Regions from separate parts of the Homo sapiens genome. Here all the other regions are linked to region 3. The links are contacts of gene promoters, found by promoter capture Hi-C in human tissues and cell types (Jung and others, 2019). All regions are on one chromosome and are shown on one strand. The core of a region is centred on a gene start or on the middle of the fragment in contact, and the rest is flanking DNA. Distances in the headings are between cores, read along the strand shown.

Evidence for each region. Contacts are between HindIII fragments. The study calls those that stand out against the background at their distance.
Region 1: a fragment that was not itself captured here is called in contact with the fragment with the promoter of TOMM22 in region 3 in 1 of the 25 tissues and cell types used here (dorsolateral prefrontal cortex).
Region 2: a contact is called between a fragment that was not itself captured here and the fragment with the promoter of TOMM22 in region 3, in 1 of the 25 tissues and cell types used here (stomach).

The regions. Positions count from the first base shown.
Region 1 is chr22:38,029,686-38,034,070 of GRCh38, forward strand. POLR2F-AS1 (POLR2F antisense RNA 1) reads right to left here. Exons shown (of 2, transcript NR_199596.1): 2 at 2,487-3,470. It also overlaps a transcript of POLR2F not described here. Among named protein-coding and RNA genes, the nearest start is that of POLR2F-AS1, 2.4 kb to the right of the region's middle. RefSeq lists enhancers at 1,337-2,536, 3,548-4,385. The HindIII fragment of the contact is 4,209 bases long and covers 201-4,385 here.
Region 2 is chr22:37,809,227-37,813,626 of GRCh38, forward strand. It overlaps GCAT (glycine C-acetyltransferase), which reads left to right. Exons shown (of 9, transcript NM_014291.4): 2 at 801-931; 3 at 3,661-3,762; 4 at 4,237-4,383. Among named protein-coding and RNA genes, the nearest start is that of GCAT, 3.5 kb to the left of the region's middle. The HindIII fragment of the contact is 3,636 bases long and covers 524-4,159 here.
Region 3 is chr22:38,680,679-38,684,649 of GRCh38, forward strand. It overlaps TOMM22 (translocase of outer mitochondrial membrane 22), which reads left to right and starts at 1,279. Exons shown (of 4, transcript NM_020243.5): 1 at 1,279-1,417; 2 at 1,645-1,763; 3 at 2,201-2,318; 4 at 3,089-3,971. The coding sequence starts at 1,301. The coding sequence ends at 3,163. TOMM22-DT (TOMM22 divergent transcript) reads right to left here and starts at 1,178. Exons shown (of 2, transcript XR_007068097.1): 1 at 1,048-1,178. RefSeq lists enhancers at 1,067-2,266, 1,313-1,382 and silencers at 1,113-1,182, 1,573-1,622. The HindIII fragment of the contact is 12,362 bases long and covers 1-3,971 here.

The DNA of each region.
Region 1 (4,385 bases), core at 1,055-3,554, 650 kb before region 3:
TCTGTCCTCCATTAACACCCCATCATCTGGGAGACTGCAAGCAAGCTAGGGAAGGCAGGGGATTTTGGGGTGTCTCTGTCCTGAGGCAGAGGATTGGATGCAGGGTTTCCCAGGGTCTTAGCCTTCACCAAGGCACCATCAGGTCAGTCCTGGTTGTGGAGCCTTCGTCCACGCTCCCTCCCATTCAGCCAAGAAACATTGATTGAACACCAATTGTGAATGAGCCTTGCAGGCTGGAGATGATTTCAAGAGGCAGAGTTAGGGGAAAGGCATTTTGGGAAAAGGGAATAGCGTGAGCCAAGGTGAGGCTGTTGCAGCAGCAGGAAACTAAGGAAGCAAGGGCCTTTTCCACAAGCATCATCTGTTCTTGTTTGGCTCAAGCGTGGGGGCAGCAAGGGAACAGTTAAGATGCAGCTGGGAAGATTGCCTGGGCCTGAAGCTGGGGATGGAAAACCCAGGGGAGGAGTCTGGACTTTTATTGGTGGCAAGTGGGAGATATCAATGGATTTTGAGCAAGAACGACTCCCCGAAGATCCCCAGATAGGGCTGGGAGCTTGAGAGAACCCACAAGCCCCCTGGGGAGCCAGGAGTCGGGCCCTCTGGACAGTCATGTGCTGGTAAATATGCTTCACAACCAGCTCTGTTTGTGGAGGTGGGAGACACAGAGGTAGACTGCCAATTTTCATAGTGGAAAAAGTCCCATCAGGGCAGGCTCAAAGCTTCCAAGGTAATATCAACTGGCTTCGATTCCAGAGACTTTCACAGTTGGCTCTCGGGAGCCAGTGTGCGCTGACTCCAGCGCACTGCCACACCCTGGGTTATAAACTGTATTTGCCCAAGACTGCTAGTGCTCAACCCTCCTTCTCCCCGATCATTCCCATGGTGCCCTGCAAACCGGAGCCCGAGGATAGAAAAGTACTCTGTGGTTTGTCCAAGCCCAGGGGACCGCCATGGTCTGAGACCCCAGGCCTGTGGGTCTGAGACTTAGCTCAGCTGCTTATGCACTGGGTGATTCAGGCACATCCTCACTTCTCTGGGATGACTTGCTTTGCAGGGTCACTCCCGGGATAAGAAGAGGTCATGCAGTGGGGAGGTGTGGGTGGGGGCAGGGTTGTGCTGGGAAGGCCTGGGGAGCGTGGTCAGTGGTTCCCCGGGGATCAGGAACAGGCCCTCTCCCACCCCACCCCCAGCTCAGTTGCTGGACAAATCCATCAGATCAGTCGGCTGTCACCAGTAGGGGGTGGGAAAGGCAGGGTCTGTGAAATGAGGGGCCCTGGGACAGGACGAGGGCTGGAAGAGCTGTGAGAGGCCCTGGGCAAGAGGTAAGGAAGCAGGCTACAGACCACCAGCACTTCAGACCCTGCCAATGGAAAGACGGGTCTTGGCAAGTGTCGGTGTCGCCCCCTCCCTCCTTGTCCCTTGGGAAACTCCTACTACTCTGTCAGGCCTCAGCTCCAGCACACCTCTTCCAAGACGCAGGGGTTAAGAGCGAGAGTTTGGGTGTCATTCCATCTGCAGGGCCCTGGACAATCTGCTTCATCTTTTTCAAACTCATCTGTAAAATGCGGACAGTAATACCACAGAGCCTGCAGGATGGTTGCAAGGATTAAATGAGATGTTCTTGGCACGGAGGAGCCTACTTCTGACAACAAGGATGCCCTCGTTCCTTGGCTACTTCTCCTACCCACGTCCCCCCACAAGGTAGACTTGGCCCTCTGAGTCCTCACCACACCACCCTCTTAGCCCAGGTAGTAATTACAGTCATGTCTGTCTCCTCCATGGAACAGTGAGCCCCTAAGTGTGGGGACTGGGTCTGATTCACCACCAGGTCCCCAGAGCCCAGTGCAGGACCTGGGCAGGCACGGACTTCACACCCTGTGCCGCTGTCCAGGTCCCCACCAGCACCAACACCCTGTCCCAGGCGCCTGATGTCACAGGTGTCCCGGCTGAGTGGCAGCTCCTCACTCAGCTTCCACTTCCTCACGTGTGACCCTGGTGACCTCCGAAGGTTGCTTCCAGCCTGAAAGTGCTGTGAGTCCATGTCTCAAACCCGCGTCACCATGCTGCCCCCAGACCAACCCCTCCCCGCTTCCCTGCCCCATCAACGGCCCCACTGTTCTCCAGTGACCCAGGCATGAAGCTTCGGAGTCATTTTTGACTCATCCATCCCCTTCATCCCCTATGGCTAGTCATCGGCCATGACAATTTTTCCTTCCAAACACATCCGTAGTCCCCTCCCCAGCATTCTAGTCCCCTCTGTCTTGGCCTCTGTTTTGGTCTGAAGTCTGGAGATTTTGTCCAGTTTCTTTTTTTTCTTTTACTTTTTTTTTGAGACAGGGTCTTGCTCCGTGGCCCAGGTTGGAGTACAATGGCGCGATCTTGGCTCACTGCAGCCTCAACCTCCTGGGCTTAAGTGATCCTCCCACTTCAGCCTTCCAAATAGCTGGAAGCCTAGGCACAAGCCACCACACCCAGCTAATTTTTAATTTTTTTGTAGAGACAGGGTCTCACTCTGTTGCCCAGGCTGGTCTTGAACTCCTGATCTCAAGCAATTCTCTCACCTTGGCCTCCCAAAGTGCCAGGGTTACAGATGTGAACCACTGCACCACACCTGGCCTGCTTTTATCCATTTTCTAACTGGCCAGTGTCCTCTCACCTTCCACCACAGCCATCTTCCCAGGAGAGCTCTGGAGTTCCACTGTTACGGTCCTCCCAAAAATGCACAGCGGGTATCTGACAGGGGAAACTGCTTCACACCCATCACCTGCCCCTGAATCCATCAGTCAGGAGCCGAGCTGCTGCCTCGAGGCTGAGTGTGCCCAGGAGAGACCGGGGTCTCTGCCCACAGTCAGGCACATAGTCCACTGAGCTCTGCTATTCCTTAGGCCCAACACTGGGCATGGGGCAGGGAAACCAGGATGCTTGAGGCATAGGCCCTGTCCACACCCTGATTGGGGACATGGATGGATGATGCCACACTGACACAGTGTGCTGTAGGAACCAACGTGGGGTGGCGGACGCCCCTCATGCTGCCTGGAATCAGGACGTGTCACAGAGGACAGACAGTCGAGCTGGGTCTTGAGGAATGAGCAGGAGTTCTGCGGAGAGGGTGCTTCAGCAAGGAAGCTGCCTGGATGCGCAGTTATGAAGGCCTGCAGGGGCAGGAGGGGTGGCCACGGTGGGAGGTGGGGAGGCCAAGCTGAGAAGGGCTCCGTGGGCCACTGGTGAGCTGCCTCTGGAATCCCTTACTGCCGTCCATAATTCATGTCCCCCACACGGAGCATGACATAATTCATGTCCCCCACATGGAGCATGACATAATTCATGACCTCCCAACCTGTGACGCAACACCTCCTTGTAAACATCAAAGCAGCCATCTGTGAGCCATCTTTGAGCCCAGGAGGTTGAGGCTGCAGTGAGTTGTGATCATGATACCGCACTCCAGCCTGGGCCCCAGAGTGAGACCCTGTCTTAAAAAAAAAAGAAAGAAAAAAGAAAATTAAAAAAAAAAGGAAGTGGACAAAATCTTGAGATTTTGCACAGAGCTGTCCTCCCTAGTTGCCCTGTCTTTCTTCGCCAGCCTTTTCAGGTGGACGGGGCATGGCTTATCTCTCCCATTTTACAGATGAGGACTCTTGAGACCTACAGAGAGAAAGCGCTTGTCCAGGGCGGCCTGCTAGGCTCTGGTAGAGCCAGGGCTGGAATTTCCCTGGCCCCAGATCCCAGAGTCTAGAGGTTGCAGCGGGGTTCAAGCCTGGTTACCCAGTCCCTCTGGGGTAGGGCTGGTTCTGTAGGACCAGATGGGGCGACAGACAGGCCCAGCTGCTGGGAACTCCAGGACCAATCACCAGTGCCCACAGAGCCTCGCCAAGGCAAGCCCTGCTGGGCTGGCACAGCCTCTGAGGCCAAGCCTGCTCCCCCAGTGCAGTGGGGGTTGGGGGATGGGATCTGGCCCCGGCGGAGCGGGAGGGACTGGGTGGCGGATTTGTGTTTCCACTTGATTTCCTCAGTTGTTTTCCAAGAGCGGTGGCAGGATCCTGAGGGGAGGGGTGGATGTGGGGAAGCCACCGGAAGGCGCCACGGCCCCGCTGCCTGCCCCCCATGTGACTCCACTGACTGACGACAGTGCCCGTGGAAGGGCCTCGAGGCTTCTGTCCTGTGCTCGCTGGGAGAGGGTGTGACGTGGACGAGGGCACTGGGCGACTCCTCATGACCCATGCTGACTCTAAGTTTGCTGCTCACTTGGGGCCCCAACCCCTTTGATTCTGGGAGTCAAGAGAGGTTGTGACCGCCGCTGACCCCTATTCCCTGCACCATCCCAGGGGTCAAGTGGCTGGGGCCGAACCCGGACAGGGCAGGAGTGCCCCAAAACCTAGGGCTTGGCA
Region 2 (4,400 bases), core at 1,092-3,591, 870 kb before region 3:
TTTGCCTTTCCCAGGCTGTGTGAACTTTCCCCTCTGGCTGTTTGCTCCTAAGGTCAGCTGTGTTCACTCTGGGCTTTAGAATTCGGGGACTGGTATCTCAGGCACCTACCTTTGGGGGTGTGATTCTGGCAGCAAAGTAAACTGTGGAGTTCCAGGACTGCAGCAGGCGTCTGATCCAGCCCTCTTCTTTAACCCTCAAGGAAACCAAGGGGTCAGATAAGGAGTCAGTGGTGGTCTTCAGGCACAGGAGAAGCCTGTGAGGAAGGGCTGAGTTCCTCCTTGGGTAGAATGTGATTCAAAGCCAGAGTTTAGGCTGGGCACAGTGGCTTGTGCCTGAAATCGTAGCACTTTGGGAGGCCAAGGCAGGAGGATTGCTTGAGGCTAGGAGTTCGAGACCAGCACGGACAACATAATGAGACCCCATCTCTACAAAAAATAAAAAAATTTAATCGGGCATGGTGGCACGCACCTGTAGTCCCAGCTACTCAGGAGGTTAAGTGGGAGGATTGCTTGAGCCTGGGAGGTTGGGGCTACAGTGAACCATGATTGCACCACTGTACTCCAACCTGGGCGACAGAGCTAGACCCTGTCTCAAAAAAAAAAAAGTTTAAACTTCTTGCTCTTCAAGATGTGTAGCACTGACGCTCCTTCTGTAGCTGTTGAATTTGGTGCCTCCTCAATGGTGACTCCAGGTCTGTTTCCTTTCTGGACCATTTCCCCAGGGCCTGGCACTGTCATCTTTCCAGGCCTGCCCTTGCCCCACCTGAGCTGCTGTATCCATCTCCTCTCCTTCACCTCAGGAATCCTTAACTTCTGTGCCAACAACTACCTGGGCCTGAGCAGCCACCCTGAGGTGATCCAGGCAGGTCTGCAGGCTCTGGAGGAGTTTGGAGCTGGCCTCAGCTCTGTCCGCTTTATCTGTGGAACCCAGGTACACAGTGAGTGGTGGGGGGTTGTGGGGACTGACCCCAGCTGCCTGCTTCCCACAGTCAGCAAGGCTGGTTTAGCCAGCTCAGCTCAGCCACAGCCCTGGGCCTACTGTTGGCCTCAGAGCTGTGCAGCAGAAAGGCTGAGTGCAGGCCTCTGTTTTGCTGAAAAGCTTTGGCCAAGGAACTTTATATATATATTTTTTCTTTTTGAGACAGAGTCTTGCTCTGTCACCCAGGCTGGAGTGCAGTGGCACAATCTTGGCTCCCTGTAACCTTCGCCTACCAGACTCAAGGGATTCTCCATGCCTCAGCCTCCTGAGTAGCTGCGATTACAGGCATGCTACCACACCCAGCTAATTTTTTTTTTTTTTTTTTTTTTGAGATGGAGTCTCGCTCTGTCGCTGAGGCTGGAGTGCGGTGGCATGATCTTGGCTACTGCAAGCTGCGCCTCCCAGGTTCACGCCATTCTCCTGCCTCAACCTCCCGAGTAGCTGGGACTACAGGCGCCTACCACCACTCCCGGCTAATTTTTTGTATTTTTAGTAGAGACGGGGTTTCACTGTGTTAGCCAGGATGGTCTCGATCTCCTGACCTCGTGATCCACCCACCTTGGCCTCCCAAAGTGCTGGGATTACAGGCGTGAGCCACCGCACTCGGCCTAATTTTTATATGTTTAGTAGAGATGGGGTTTCACCATGTTGGCCAGGCTGGTCTTGAACTCCTGGCCTCAAGTGATCTCCTCCACCTTGGCCTTCCAAAGTGGAAACTGCCTTTTTGAGCATTCATTTTCCCACCTGCAAAACAGAGTCCCTCACACCTGACCTTCTATAAGAAAAGAGGAGTAGGCGGCAGGAACTGAGACTAAGGGCTCTGGGGCTGTTCTGACGGGAGCACAGTTGCCAGTGCTGCCCTTTAGTGTCCCTGTTCCTGTGGGCAAGTATCTTAACTTTTCTCTGTCTCAATTACTTCATAGGGAAAATGAAGATAATAGCACTTAATAGGATCATTACAAATTAAAGACTTAATACATGTAATGCTTAGAATAGGCCGGGCGCAGTGGCTCATGCCTGTAATCCCAGCACTTTGGGAGGCTGATGCAGGCGGATCACCTGAGGTCAGGAGTTCAAGACCAGCCTGGCCAACATGGCGAAACCCTTTCTCTACAAAAATATAAAAATTAGCTGGCATGATGGTGGGTGCCTGTAATCGCAGCCACTTGGGAGGCTGAGGCAGGAGAATCGCTTGAACCTAGGAGGTGGAGGTTGCAGTGAGCTGAGATCACGCCACTGCACTCCAGCCTGAGCAACAGAGTGAGACTCTGTCTCAAAAAAAAAAAAAAAAAAAAAAAGCATAGAACAGCCTGGCACATAGTACTGCTCAATGAATGTTGGCTATTATTTATTTTCCAAATGTTACAAAATAAATTTATATAAGTATGAAACTTAAATAGTACTTATTATGTGCCAGGAATTCTTTTAAGAAAATTACAACTATTGGCCAGGCGTGGTGGCTTATGCCTGTAATCCAGGCACTTTGGGAGGCCGAGGTGGGTGGATTACTGAGTTCAAGACCAGCCTGGCCAACATGGTGAAACCCTGTCTGTGCTAAAAATACAAAAATTAGCTGGCCGGGCTCGCTTGAACCCATGAGGCAGGGGTTGCAGTGAGCCACGACGGTGCGACCACACTCCAGCCTGGGTGACAGAGGGAAACTCTGTCTCAAAAAAAAAAAAAAAAGAACATTACAAGTATTAACTCATTAATCCTAAGTGATAGTTGCTATTCTTATTCCCGCTATTGAGATGAGGACACTGAGATCCAGAGAGGTTAAGTGACTTGCCCAGAGGCACACAGCCTGTTGTGGGATTTGAACCCTGGCTCAAGAGTCCATGCTGGCTGGGCATGGTAGTTCACACCTGTAATCCCAATACTTTTGGAGCCCAAAGCAGAAGGATCACTTGATGCCTGGAGTTTGAGACCAGCCTGGGCAACATAGCAAGACCCTCTCTCTAAAAAAAAAAAAATGTTTTTAATTAGCTGGGTGTGGTGGTGCGCACCTGTAGTCCCAGCTACTAGGGAGGGGAGGCTGAGTTGGGAGGATCACTTGAGCCCAGGAGTTCAAGGCTACAGTAAGCTATGGTCTCACTACTGCACTCCAGCCTGAGTGACAGAGAATCCCTGTCTCATTTGCCAAAAAAAAGAAAGAGTCTGTGCTCCTGACTACTTGTGATTATCATTAACTGCCCTCTCAGAAAGGTGAGAGTGAAATGAATGTCAGAGGCAGAACTCCTGACTCGCATCCAGTCACTTCCCAGCAAAGCCCTCACCCAGACCCAACAGTTTTCAAATTTACAAATTAGAGGCCCAGGTGAACCCAGAATTACCTCTGTGATCTTTTTCTTCACCATTAGGCGACCAAAAAAGACACTCAGTATGGTGTTAGGAAGACACATCTTTCTTCTCCACGAGTGCCCGTAATTCCACCATTAGACTGCCACTGTAAAACCAAAGTCTGCCCAGGGAGGGAACCTAACAGGTCCCCAGTTCCTCAGTGGGAACTGTCTGTCAGATTCCTGGCAGCTCTGGGATAGCCCATGTGTGGCAGAAAGTAAGGAGACTGAGGCTGCAGGCTTTCTGGGTTGGGTCTCTGTGGTCCTCCAAGCCTCTGTCCCCTCGAACTTGTCCCACATGACCCCACAGGCATCAACACGTGTCTCACTCATTTTCTTCAGAGCATCCACAAGAATCTAGAAGCAAAAATAGCCCGCTTCCACCAGCGGGAGGATGCCATCCTCTATCCCAGCTGTTATGACGCCAACGCCGGCCTCTTTGAGGTGTGTGGAAGCTGTCCTGCGGGTGAGGGTTGGTGGGGCCTGTTAGGCTGAGGAAGGCTTGGGTGTGGGCAGTCGGGAGAACCTAGCAGGATTCAGTGCCATGCCTAGAGGCTCCAGAGCCCGCTTCTGGAGGTCAAGGTTGGGCCAGGTAGGTGCTCCAGGAGGAATCCTGGGGCTTGCAGGGAGCCTGAGTTCCAGAGCCTTTGGGGGATAAGCTACATCAGCTGGAAGGCTGGGGGAGGCGGGGGCCTGGTACTCACCAAATATATTCTCACCTCCTCTTACTAGAGCAGGGCGCTGGTCCAGCCCGGCACTGAGACACGGGGGCCCCAGAGAGAAGCACAGAACACCTTGCCTCTCTACCCAGAGGAGCGCCCTGGCTGGCAGTACAGTTTTTTGATTTGCTGGAGTCCCGGTCAAGGGAGAAGCCCAGGGTGGTTAAATGATGGCTCTACGCTCACTGCCTCCCTCCAGGCCCTGCTGACCCCAGAGGACGCAGTCCTGTCGGACGAGCTGAACCATGCCTCCATCATCGACGGCATCCGGCTGTGCAAGGCCCACAAGTACCGCTATCGCCACCTGGACATGGCCGACCTAGAAGCCAAGCTGCAGGAGGCCCAGGTGGGGCGACGCCTGGG
Region 3 (3,971 bases), core at 29-2,528:
GGCCCTGGTCACAGGCCGAATTAAGAAATCCGGCAAGGTGGGGCGCAGTGGCATAGGCCTGTAATCCTAGGACTTGGGGAGGCTGAGGCAGTCGGATTGCTTGAGTCTCGGAGTTCAAGACCAGCCTAGGCAACACAGTGAAACCCTGTCTTTATATATATATGTATGTGTGTGTGTGTGTGTGTGTGTATATGTGTGTATGTATATATACATAATACGTATATATGTATACGTATGTATATATATACATATATACACATACCTATATACACATATATACATATATACACATATATACATATATATACATATATACGTATATATATACACACACATAAAATATATATTATATATAATATATAACTATATATAGGCCAGGTGCGGTGGCTGATGCCTGTAATGCCAGCACTTTGGGAGGCCGAGGCGGGCAGATCACTTGAGGTCAGGAGTTCAAAACCAGCCTAGCCAAATGGTGAAACCCCGTCTCTACTAAAAATACAAAAAATTAGCGGGGCGTGGTTGGTGGTGCATGCTGAGGCAGGAGAATCGCTTGAACCTGGGAGGCGGAGCTTGCAGTGAGCCGGGATCACACCACTGCACTCCATCCAGTCTGGGCGACAGAGCGAGACTCCGTCTCAAAACAAAACCAACAACAACAACAACAACAAAAAGCTAAAATCTTACAAAAAGCGACCTGTTCCACTGTCCCTTGGGCCTGCGGTGATGGTGGGCCTGACTCCATTCGTCTTTAAACATCTCTATTCCCGGCCACATCTTTGGCCACCTATGCTCGAATAAAGTGTTGTCTTGGAGCCTGTTGTAAATTTAAGAATAAACTTTTGTTAAAAAAAAAAATACAGTGGCTCATCATCTCTTGAGTTGTTTTCACTCAGCCACTCCTACCTTAGCTGTGAACTTAAAGTAAAACAAGCCCCCAGAATCTTGCCAGAGTCAGCCCTTTGATCTTTGTTCTCCCCTGAACTCTATTACCTGGAATTAAAACAACGCATTTGAAAAAAAGAAAAACAAGCAAGTTTCTGAGCTCACCCTATACCCGCTGAACAGAATGACTGCGGTGGCGCCCCAGAACCTCTCACAGGCCTCTCAGCTGCTGCTAATGCCCGCCGAAGCCCCGACGCCCGGATAAGGCCAGGGCTGCCGGACCCGCTGCGGGCACTGGAGGACCCGGGGCTAGAGGGCGCCGCTCTCGCCCGGCTCGCGCCTCGGCTCCCGGAAAAGCAGCTCTGTCCGCCGTTCGGCTGCGCTCACCTCCTTTCCGCTTCCGGTGTCCCCTACAGTCATGGCTGCCGCCGTCGCTGCTGCCGGTGCAGGGGAACCCCAGTCCCCGGACGAATTGCTCCCGAAAGGCGACGCGGAGAAGCCTGAGGAGGAGCTGGAGGAGGACGACGATGAGGAGGTACTAGGGCCTCGCGGGGTGCAGAGCGGGAAGCGGGCCCGCTCGTGGGTGTGGGATCCGCGTGGTACGGGATCGGAGCGAAGCGGCTGCTTTGGGAGGCGGGGTTAGGGGCCCTGCTGGGCCCTGGGTGCCCTAGCTCCAGTGGGGCTCGGCGGCTCCCAGTGCCGCAGCGGGGCCAGGAATGGATGTCGCTTTTTCGGCTAAGACCCGCGTCTACTCCACCACAGCTAGATGAGACCCTGTCGGAGAGACTATGGGGCCTGACGGAGATGTTTCCGGAGAGGGTCCGGTCCGCGGCCGGAGCCACTTTTGATCTTTCCCTCTTTGTGGCTCAGAAAATGTACAGGTAAGGAACGAGGGCAAAGGCACTGGGTACGTGCATGGGATGGTCGTGGTGCTGTGAAAGAACACGGGGTTTGGAAGCAGCAGACCCGTGTTGGGTGACCTTGGGCTTGTACCCTATCCTTTCTTAGTTTCCTCTTCTGTAAAATGGGGATTCTTACCTGGCAGGGGAGTTGTGGGGGTTATTTCAGATTGTTGGAGATAATTAATGAATAAGGAGCTTTGTAAGAACTCAGGAGAATGTTAAACCGCCATCACTAGATGATACAGCTACCATAGCTGCTCCTCCTGTCTCTGGTAGGAGTATGGTGTAAGGAGCGGGTAGAATACGTTTATCAAAAACATTGGAGTATGTAATGTGAGAGGTTTGGTTACTGGGTAGTTCTTGCCTGTTTTGTTTGCATGTCTTCATGCTCACCCTCTGGGGATTTTCCTCTGCAGGTTTTCCAGGGCAGCCTTGTGGATTGGGACCACTTCCTTTATGATCCTGGTTCTTCCCGTTGTCTTTGAGACGGAGAAGTTGCAAATGGAGCAACAGCAGCAACTGCAGCAGCGGCAGGTGAGCCCAGACCTTGGGCTTTTTGCCAGTGGTGGAGACGCAAGTTATTTCACTAACACATTGGTCCCCAACCTTTTTGGCACCAGGGACTGGTTTCATGGAACACAGTTTTTACATGGATGGTGGGTTGGGGGTGGCCGGGGGTCGGGGGGGGGGTTCTGGATGATTCAAGTGCATTACATTTATTGTGCACTGAATTTCTATTATTACATTGTAATATATAATGAAATAATTCTATAACGTAGAATGAGTGGGAGCCCTGAGCTTGTTTTCCTGCAACTAGACAGTCCTGTCTGGGGGTGATGGGAGACAGTGACAGATCATCAGGCATTAGATTTTCATAAGGAGCTTGCAACCTAGATCCCTCGCATGCACTGTTCACAAGGGTTTGTGTTCCTATGAGAATCTAACACTGCTGCTGATCTGACAGGAGGTGGAGCTCAGGCAGTAATGTGAGCGATGGTGAACAGCAGTAAACACAGATGAAGCTTCTCTCACTTGCCTGCTGCTGATCTACTGCTGTGTGGCTCAGCTCCTAACAGGCCATGGGCCAGTGCCAGTCCACAGCCCAGGGGTTGAGGGCTCCTGTTGTAGCACCTGAGTTGACCAACAGTTAATGTGTGGGTGGGGATTGGGATCGGGCCCATGCTCTTTTAGTTGTCTGACTGTGCTTTCAGTATTATTTTTGTAGACGTTGGCCCCATCAGGTATGGTGAGAATAAGCTCTCTAGGCCTGTATGATGCCTTACACCCCTCCTTTTCTTTTCCAGATACTTCTAGGACCTAACACAGGGCTCTCAGGAGGAATGCCAGGGGCTCTACCCTCACTTCCTGGAAAGATCTAGATTGTTATTGCTGTTTGAGCTGTCTCAGTGGGATAAGTTTGAAATTCAAGTGTTTGAACTGCTGATAATTTGGATTTTTTTTTTTTTTTAACTTTGGCACATTGATCTATCTAAACCTGGTGGGGAGAATTATCCCCACATTGTCTCATGGAAAGACTCAACTTGCAACTGTGCCCTCCACACTATCCTTACTTCTGTCTCCACTCTGATACCAGAGTGCAGCCATGCAGATGGTTATTCCAGCTCTGGTCACCCGACTCCTTTCACCAAATTGCTCCTAACTGGAAGATCTCACTTTCCCCTTGTGGGGTAGGAACCGATGCCAGTGGGAGGGATGTGCCCCTGACCATTAACGACTGTTTTTTTTTTTTTTTTTTAAAGAATGGAGTTGTTGGGGCAGGACATGCACACAATGTGAAACAGACAAAATGCATTACACCTGTAGTGTAAAGTGGCCACTATGAATCCCTATGTATGAGAGGAGGGAGGCAGGCTGCAGCTTCAGCCACAGAATGGGGACTATGGAAGACAGCAGGAGCTCATTTCCTCTGCACATTTTGGCTGTTAGACCTGTGTGTGTGTTTAAAAAAAGAGAAGTCAGTGCTCACTTTTTGTATTTAAATATTAAAAATGATTCCAACTGAAAGTGTCATCCTAAGTACCTTGAAATGAGACCACGTCAGAGACATGTACTGCCCCTCACATTTTCTCACCTAAACCAGCAGCACCTCCATCTTAACAGCCATAGGCCCAAATTGTTTCCAAGTGAAAATTCATTTTTAGCCAAGTACTTCATAGCAATCTTTGC